Linked DNA regions of Homo sapiens: region 2 is linked to region 1. The links are contacts of gene promoters, found by promoter capture Hi-C in human tissues and cell types (Jung and others, 2019). All regions are on one chromosome and are shown on one strand. Each heading gives the region's core, a stretch centred on a gene start or on the middle of the fragment in contact. The rest is flanking DNA. Distances are from core to core; before and after follow the strand shown.

Region 1 (4,632 bases), core at 570-3,069:
TTCTGTTTCTCTACTGCCATGCCCCCTTCAAGCCATTCTCATTACAGAGTAAGTAACCTTCCTAAAGTACAAATTTCATCGTGGAATTCTGATGACTCTTCTCAGTCCTCTGGATGAAGAGCAAAATTCCTTAACATAGCTCACAAGGCCCTAAAGGATCTGGCCCATGCCTACTCCCTGCAGGCTTATCAATCTTTAGTCTCCTTCATGCTCTGGAGAATGAAAGTAGACTTGCAGGTCCTAGACCAGGATCTCAATGTCTTTACATACTCAGCCCATCCTGCTCTGTGGACTAACCTTTCTCCTTCTCCTGCTTTTCATCAAGCTAAGGTCTACTTTTCAAACTGTCCTCAGCTTAAACATCATCCCTCCAGGGATGCCTATCCTGATCAACAACTTTGGTTCAGATGTATTACCTTAACACTCTTACACCTTGTTTTAGTCCTTATCACACATTTTTTGTTTGTTTTTGAGACGGAGTCCTGCTCTGTCGCCCAGGCTGGAGTGCAGTGGTACGATCTCGGCTCACTGCAACCTCCTCCTCCCAGGTTCAAGCGATTCTCTGCCTCAGCCTCCTGAGTAGCTGGGACTATAGGCGCACACCACCACGCTTGGCTAATTTTTGTATTTTAATAGAGACAGGGGGTTTTACCATGTTGGCCAGGATGGTCTCGATTTCCTGACCTTGTGATCCACCCGCCTCGGCCTTCCAAAGTGCTGGGATTACAGGCGTGAGCCACTGTGCCCGGCCAAAGCCACTGTGCTCGGCCTATCACACAGTATTTTAACTGTTAACCCAGGCAGTTACCCCACTGGGGCATGGAGTATGTAAGGACAGAGCACTGTTTTTAATATTCTGTTTCCCTAGAGCCTAAAACAACCTATTACCGATGGCATGCTCTGGGTACTCAACACATTTAATAAACGGGTAGATTCAACTAATAAAAATTTAGCAAGTGGCAGCCCAGTCCGGACACCTCACACATAATGTTGAACAAAACAGACCATCTCTAACTTTATACAGTTTACAATGCAATAGAAAAGCATAAGCAAGTAAGCAAACCAAATCTAATTGCAAATTGAAATATGTTCTGTGGAAGAAATAAATGGGGACACTTGTTAGGATAGTCAAGGAAGGGTTATCTTCCTGAGAAAACATTTACACTGAGACCTGAAAGCTGAAAAAGAAGTGGGCTAAGCTCCTCTACTTTTGGAGCGGTTCCTTTCCATGTCTCAGGTGAATAATCCAGCAGTGGGCCAACGAGTATACATCGAGCAACTGTCTACTACTATGTGTGTGCCTCGTGTATGCTGGACGTCAGAAGTACAGTGAAAGATGCAACCACGCAAGTATACGGTAGGTTTCTGCCGTTCTCTGTTCTCTGGAGTGCCTCCGGAGAGCTTCTCCGTCTCAGGCCCCTTTGACCCCATCCAGAGCTCTCCCTTCTAGGACTCCACACTATCCGTTCCCCCGCCTCGCCCCCCGGCTCCGATTCACCCACCCAACTCGAGTATCAGCTCCCAGAGCTCCTCTCTATTCCCCGCCCTCTTCTTCTTTGTCCGGGGTTTCTCCCTTCAGGGCTCCTCTTTGCCTCCTCCCCTCCCTTTTCCCAGGCCCGGATCTTGCCTCTGTGAAACCCCCATAAGTCGTCTGGTAGAACTCATCTTCCTCCTCTGCCTCCAAAAGCCCAGAAAGCCGGTTCCCAGCGGTCTTCCGGGGTGCCCGGCCCCCAGCCAAACTCATACCGCCTACCGAGACTGCGCCGCCACCTGCAGCCCCTCACCAGCTCGGTTTTGGGAGCTCGACGCTCGACATCACTACCTGCGGGTGGCCACCAGCGGCGGAAGTCGGGCGTTTACAGGCAGAAGTAACAGAGTGTCGAGAGACTCCCAGTCCCACCCTCTAAACCCTCTTTACTCTTCAGCCTCTCCTACTCCTGCGCGGATGCTCTAGGCCGCTTGCTCTAGTACCCAGCGATCTCCCTTGCTCAATGAGTCCACTTGGTGGTACGAAGACCCCCATAACCCTAAGTCAACACATTTTATTTTATTTATTTTTATTTTATATATATATATGGTTTTTTTTTTCCGTAGGGACGGAGTCTCGCCTCGCTCTGTCGCCAGACTGGAGTGCAGTGGCACGATCTCGGCTCACTGCAACCTCCGTCCCCCGGGCTGAAGCGATTCTCCTGCCTCAGTCCCCCGAGTAGCTGGGATTACAGGCGCCCGCCACCATGCCCAACTAATTTTTGTATTTTTAGTAGAGACAGCTTTCACCGTGTTGGCCAGGCTGGTCTCGAACTCCTGACCTCAGGTGATCCGCCCGCTTCGGCCTCCCAAAGTGCTGGGATTACAGGCATAAGCCTGCGCCCCCAGCTCACATTTTCTTTTAGAAGAGGTCATTCTCTCCGCTCCAGTCCATTTTCTACACTGCTGCTAGTAGGAAACTTTCTAAAAACCCACGTTTTGCCACTCCTGTCCTCAAACATTTTTAATGGCTCCACATCATCTACAAGATAAAGTCAAAAATCCTTGAGGAAGGAAGCATAGTATTGTGGTTAAAAACACAGCCATAGACATTTATCCAAAGGAAAGGACATAATTCAACCTGAGGAAGCCAATTTAGGAGGAAAAAAAAAAAGGAAATCAGTATATCCAAGAGACGTCTGCACTCCATATTTATGCACCCCCATATTTATTGCAGCACTACTTAGAGTAGCCAAAATAGGAAATCAATCTCTGTGTCCAACAACAGATGAATAAAGGAAATAGGGTGTATATACACAATGGAATACTTTTCAGCCATTAAAAAGAAGAAAATCCTGTCATTTGCAGCAACATGGATGGAACTGGAGGACATGTTAACTGACTTAAGCCACGAACAGAAAGTTAAAACACTGCATGTTCTCACTCATATGTGACGCTTTTAAAAAGTTGATTTCATAGAAGTGAAAGAACAGAGGATACTGGAGGCTGGGAAGAGCAGGGGGAAGGAAGGGACAGGGAAAGATTTGTTAAAAGACACAAAATTGTGGCTCACACCTGTAATCCCAGCACTTTGGGAGGCCGAAGGGGGTGGATCATGAGGTCAGGAGTTCACGACCAGCCTGGCCAAGATGGCGAAACCCCATCTCTACTAAAAATACAAAAATTAGCTGGTCGTGGTGGTGGGCGCCTGTTATCCCAGATACTCGAGAGGCTGAGGCAGAGAATTGCTTGAACTCGGGAGGCGGAGGTTGCAGTGAGCCGAGATCGCGCCATTTGCTCTCCAGCCTGGGAAACAGAGCAAGACTCCGTCTCAGAAAAAAAAAAAAGACAAAATTGGGCCTGGCACAGTGGCTCACACCTGTAATCCCAGCACTTTGGGAGGCTGAAGCGGGCAGATCCCGAGGTCAAGAGATTGTGACCATCCTGGCCAACATGGTGAAACCCCGTATCTACTACAAATACAAAAATTAGCTGGGTGTGGTGGCGCGCACCTGTAGTCCCAGCTACTAGGGAGGCTGAGGCAGGAGAATCGCTTGAACCCGGGAGGCAGAGGTTGCAGTGAGCTGAGATTGTGCCACTGCACTCCAGCCTGGCAACAGAGCAAGACTCCATCTCAAAAGAAAAAAAAAAAAGACACAAAATTACAATTTTTTTTGAGACAGGGTCTCTATTGCCCAGGCTGGAGTGCAGCAGCAGGATCATGGCTCACTGCCTCCTTGACCTCCTGGGCTCAAGCTGTCCTCCCACCTTGGCTTCCAAAAGTGCTAGGATTACAGCTGTGAGCCACCACACTGGCCCCCAATTACATTTGTTTGTTCGTTTGTTTGTTTGTTTGAGATAGGATCTCACTTTGTCACCCAGGCTGGAATACAGTGATGCAATCACTGCTCACTGCAGTCTCGACCTCCTGGGTTCAAGTGATCATCGCACCTCAGCCTCGTGGGTAGCTGGAACTACAGGCTCGTGTCACCACGCCTGGCTAATTTTTTGTACTTTTTGTGGAGATGAGATTTCATCATGTTGCCCACGGTGATCACCTGAGCTCAAGTGATCCCCACTCCTCAGCCTCTCAATGTGCTGGGATTACAGGTGTGAGCCACCTCGCTTGGCCCCAAATTACATTTAGATAGGAGGAATAAATTCTAGTGTTCTTGGCCGGGTGTGGTGGCTCACACCTGTAATCCCAAAACTTTGGGAGGCTGAAGTGGGCAGATCACCTTAGATCAGGAGTTTGAGACTAGCCTGGCCAACATGGCGAAACCCCATCTCTACTAAAAATACAAAAATTAGCCGAGCACGTTGGCGGGTGCCTGTAATCCCACCTACTAGGAGGCAGAGGCAGGAGAATCACTTGAACCCCGGAGGCGGAGGTTGCAGTGAACCAAGATCGCACCATTGCACTCTAGCCTGGGCAACAAGAGTGAGACTCCATCTCAAAAAAAAAAAAAAAAATTCTAGTGTTCTATATCACTGGGGGATAACTATGATTAACAATAATATTTTCAAATAGCTAGAAGAAGGATATTGAATGTTTGTGCTGGAGACAAATAAATTATATATTTGTGAGGCCAGGCACGGTGGCTCACGCCTGTAATCCCAGCACTTTGGGAGGTTAAGGTGGGCAGATTATTTGAGGTCGGTAGT
Region 2 (4,632 bases), core at 1,164-3,663, 63 kb before region 1:
AGCAACAATGATGGTAGCAGCTCTCTCCCTGACCTTGCCCCATGTGCTGTCCTTCTGTCAAGGCCATTTGTGTGTGTACTGCGGCAGGTGTGTGTGTGGGGGGATGCGCCCAGACTGTTCTCACAATGTCCTCAGTTTTTCAGGTTGTCTGACAGCTTTATGTACAGCGTATTTTTAGAAAAACTTAAATATACTTCTTTATTTAGGGTTTTATTCTGATGAGCAAGTTTGTGTGTATATGTGTGTATGAGCATTTGTATGTATATATACTTATACAGATCTATATTATATATACAGTTTTTGTACTATCATTTAAAATAAAAATGTTTCTCAATAAAATGTCAAAGCCGACCATTTCAGGGTGTCATTGAATTTGTTTTCATCTCCTGGGCAAAATTTGTATCTATTCTCTTTTTTTTTTTTTTTTTTGAGACGGAGTCTCGCTCTGTCGCCCAGGCTGGAGTGCAGTGGCGGGATCTCGGCTCACTGCAAGCTCCGCCTCCCGGGTTCACGCCATTCTCCTGCGTCAGCCTCCCAAGTAGCTGGGACTACAGGCGCCCGCCACTACGTCCGGCTAATTTTTTTGTATTTTTAGTAGAGACGGGGTTTCACCGTTTTAGCCGGGATGGTCTCGATCTCCTGACCTCGTGATCCGCCCGCCTCGGCCTCCCAAAGTGCTGGGATTACAGGCGTGAGCCACCGAGCCCGGCCAAATTTGTATCTATTCTCTAATGACAGGTGAACCACAGAGCTCATTTTCCCTGTCCAACTGAGCTAACTGAAGGGGGAGGGGTATAGATCTACTAACCCATGCATGGCCATTGCCTTTTCCTTATCCACCGCTCTCAGCCTGGTATTCTTGACAGGCAGAGCAAGTTGAGGTAAGAAATGAAATGAGAATGAGGAGAGCTTTTGACCAGCTTGTTAAATGTACATTTTCCTTCTTTCTCTCATTCCCCACTCCCTTCCCTAAAAGCAAACAACCAAGGGAGGAGAAAAGTAGCTGAAGAAAATGATTATGTGCCTTGTGTGGGAGTAAAGTCAATACTGAGACGTATGGGGAAAAACATCAGACTCAGGAGTGCTTGGAAAGAGTAGATTTACTTTGCCAGCTTCTCAGCTATTCTTGGTTAATAGGGTGCTTGCTGCTATCTTAGTCCAAAATCAGCACACATTTATATTTAAAAATAGGAGGATCAGTCTGATAGTAGCACAATCCCCATTGATAGCCGGGGTGAACAGACCAATTTGACTAGCAAGATGGGTATCCTATCTAGTGTATAGAGTTCTGAAAAGCTGTTTTGTTGGCAAGAAGGATACCTTTCTTTACAAAATTAGCTTTGAGCCTGTCCAAAGCTAAGGACATATAAGCATCTGTGTTCAGCGACTGGAATCTCAAGTAAGTTCTCAAAGTCAATATTTAGGAAATTGGACACCTACCATGTACTAGGGTACATGTAGATAATTTCTTTTTGGTAAATACATATAGTCAGCAAATGCTGTGCACATATTCAAGTAATAGAAAGTAATTCTGGCAGGTACTTTATTAATATATATAGTCTTGGCTGTGCTGACAGAAAAAAAAGCAGGAACTTGTGGAGCCTTAAGAACCAAAGAACTAAAAATCTTGTTGAATTAAATCCTGGTGAGAGAAATCATCAAGATGGGAAAGTTGGAGGGAACTAGAGAGATAGGAACCTAGAGTTCTCTGATGGGTGATACTCTTTTTTTTTTTTTTTTTTTTTTGAGACAGAGTCTCACACTGTTGCCCAGGCTGGAGTGCGGTGGCATGATCTTGGCTCACTGCAGCCTCTGCCTCCCAGGTTCAAGTGATTCTCCTGCCTCAGCTTCCCTATTAGCTGGGATTACAGGCATGCACCACTACACTCAGCTAATTTTTGTATTTTTAGTAGAGACGGGGTTTCACCATGTTGGCCAGGCTGGTCTTGAACTCCTGACCTCAGGTGATCCACCCGCACTGGCCTCCCAAAGTGCTGGGCTTACAGGTGTGAGCCACCGTGCCCGGCTGGGTGATAGTCTTAAGTAATGGGAAAAATTATGAACTAGGGCAACTTTCCTAAGACTTCCTTCCTCTGTAAAAAAGAACCCTCTACTCCAAGGAGATCAATAGGTAAAAAATACAGGTGAAGGCTGAAGTGGGAGCAACCCAGTGATAACTACACCTGTGTAAGGCTTGTGCAAGACATTTGATAGGTAATTGAGTAAGTTAAGACTATGGGAGACTTCTGAACAAAAGTGTGGGGTTGCAGTCTGCTCCTATAACCAGTCCTAAAGTTTAAGGGTAGTGCTGTAAAGGAAAGGAAAGTTTGGGAAAGGGCCCAAAATTATAAATAACAATAGCCACCATGTTTTAAGCTTTTGCTACATGTCTGGCAATGTGCTAGGTACTCTGCATATACATATAAATACCCATCTTGTAAGGTGAGTATTATCCTCATCATATAGTTGTAAAAATAGGTTGACTTTGCAGAGTCACACACTTGTAAAAATTGTCCTTTTTTTTTTTTCTTTTTAAAGACAGGGTCTCACTCTTGCCCAGGCTGGAGTGCAGTGGCATGATCTTGGCTCACTGCAGCCTCGACCTTCGACCTCCAGGTCTCAAGCAATCCTCCACCTCAGCCTACTGAGAAGCTGGGACTACAGGTGCACACCACCATGCCTGGCTAATTTTTGTATTTTTGGTAGAGACAGGGTTTCACCATGTTGCCCAGGCTGGTCTTGAACTCCTGAGCTCAAGGGATCCACCTGCCTTACCTTCCCAAACTGTTGGAATTATAGGCGTGAGCCATGGCACCCTGGCTAAAATTGTTCTTTCTAAAACTACAGTTTCTACATTGAGTTAATTAGTGTACTTTCCTCTGTGATTTCCCTTTTGTCAGAATGCTATTTTATTCACTAGCCTTGGGCAGCTTAATTCATCTCAGATTTGCATTTAAGAAACTGAGGGCCGGGTGCCGTGGCCCGTAATCCCAGCACTTTGGGAGGCCAAGGCCGGCGGATCACGAGGTCAGGAAATTGAGACCATCCTGGCTAACATGGTGAAAACCTGTCTCTACTAAAAACACAAAGATTAACTGGGTGTGGTGGCAGGCGCCTGTAGTCCCAGCTACTCAGGAGGCTGAGGCAGGAGGCGGAGCTTGCAGTGAGCCGCAGTTGCACCACTGCACTCCAGCCTGGGTGACAGAGTGAGACACTATCTCGGAAAAAAAAAAAAAAAAAAAAAAGCCAAACTCGGGCAGATCACCTGAGGTTGGGAGTTCGAGACCAGCCTGGCCAACATGGTGAAACCCCATCTCTACTGAAAATACAAAAATTAGCCGGGCATGGTGGCACATCCCTGTAATCCCAGCTACTCGGGAGGCTGAGGCAGGAGGCTTGAACCCAGGAGGCAGAGATTGCAGTGAGCTGAGAGAGCCGAGATTGCACCACTGCACTCCAGCCTGGGCGACAGAGCAAGACTCTGTCTCAAAAAAAAAAAAAAGAAACTGAGAAGAAAAATATGATCCAAGCAGCATTTCCTATAAGCTCCCCAAAGTAAATTTTGCTCCAAAACTAATTTGGGGGTATCTGCATAGAGTTTCTGGCCAGCAATACTTGAGCAAGAAGAGTAAAAAATAATCTCTCTTGTGGGGAATGAATAGGGTCTTCATCTCTAGGTATGCTGGATGTTTTCTTTCTTTCCTTCCAGATTACGCTCCTCTATTCTGTAGCCTGTTCTCTGTCCTGGGAGACTGACCTATATGAACATCAATGGGCTTCCTGTGCTTTGGCCTCCAGTTGGATTCAGCCAATAGGGAGCCCTGACAGGAGACTGGGGGAAGAGAAAAGACTGAAGTCGATGTATTGACATTTGCCAGGCACAGTGGTGCACTCCTGTAATCTCAGCTACTCGGGAAGCTGAGGCACGAAAATCACTTGAACCTGGGAGGCGGAGGTTTTGGTGAGCTAAGATCACACCACTGCACTCCAGCAACTGTATCGCAAAAAAAAAAAAAAAAAAAAAAAAAAGTCACTGCTTCTCTCAAGGCACTCTCCCCCTCCAGGACCTAGAAACTAATAACTCCTTTTATCCTTTTAGGCCTAATACAGTTATTAGCCTCCAGTTACTGACCTATCCTTTGCCCATACCTTTCAAAATAGCCCTTCATTATTTTGAGAATGTTATTTCCTGTTGGGACCCTGTCTGATACACCTGGTAAAGGTAGGTGATCTTTTCGATTTACAGGCTTCATATTTTATCCATGTACTTGAACCTTACTCTCATACATATAACCTTATATTCTTATGAGCCAACAGTTCTGAAGGGTCAACTGCTGGATTAAGTAGCAGAGAGTGACGCATACCTGTGTGGTTCTCATGGATGGGACAGTGACATCAAGGAGTTAAAAACCTGAGAGACAATAATATCTCAGGCCCCTGTGACTTAGCCCCCAAAGAACCCAAGATGCTGAACAGCTTTTCAAGCTCTGTGACTGTGGAACCTTCTGTGATTCAAGTCCCCAAAGCCTTACACAAACTGATGGAATCTGTCTGCTGGGGCCCTGGTTTCTCCATAACCTCCCAGGATGCCTCTGAGAAATCAGCTTAGAAATCCCTGAGGATGATGATGCT

The links. Contacts are between HindIII fragments. The study calls those that stand out against the background at their distance.
Region 2: a contact is called between a fragment that was not itself captured here and the fragment with the promoter of VPS72 in region 1, in 1 of the 25 tissues and cell types used here (heart left ventricle).

What each region holds. Positions count from the first base shown.
Region 1 is chr1:151,188,378-151,193,009 of GRCh38, forward strand. VPS72 (vacuolar protein sorting 72 homolog) reads right to left here and starts at 1,820. Exons shown (of 6, transcript NM_005997.3): 1 at 1,628-1,820. The coding sequence starts at 1,744. RefSeq lists enhancers at 1,795-1,864, 1,905-1,964. The HindIII fragment of the contact is 20,238 bases long and covers 1-4,632 here.
Region 2 is chr1:151,125,192-151,129,823 of GRCh38, forward strand. GABPB2 (GA binding protein transcription factor subunit beta 2) reads left to right here. Exons shown (of 9, transcript NM_144618.3): 9 at 1-351. LOC124904418 (a long non-coding RNA gene) reads left to right here and starts at 4,023. Exons shown (of 2, transcript XR_007066619.1): 1 at 4,023-4,222; 2 at 4,318-4,632. The HindIII fragment of the contact is 3,145 bases long and covers 842-3,986 here.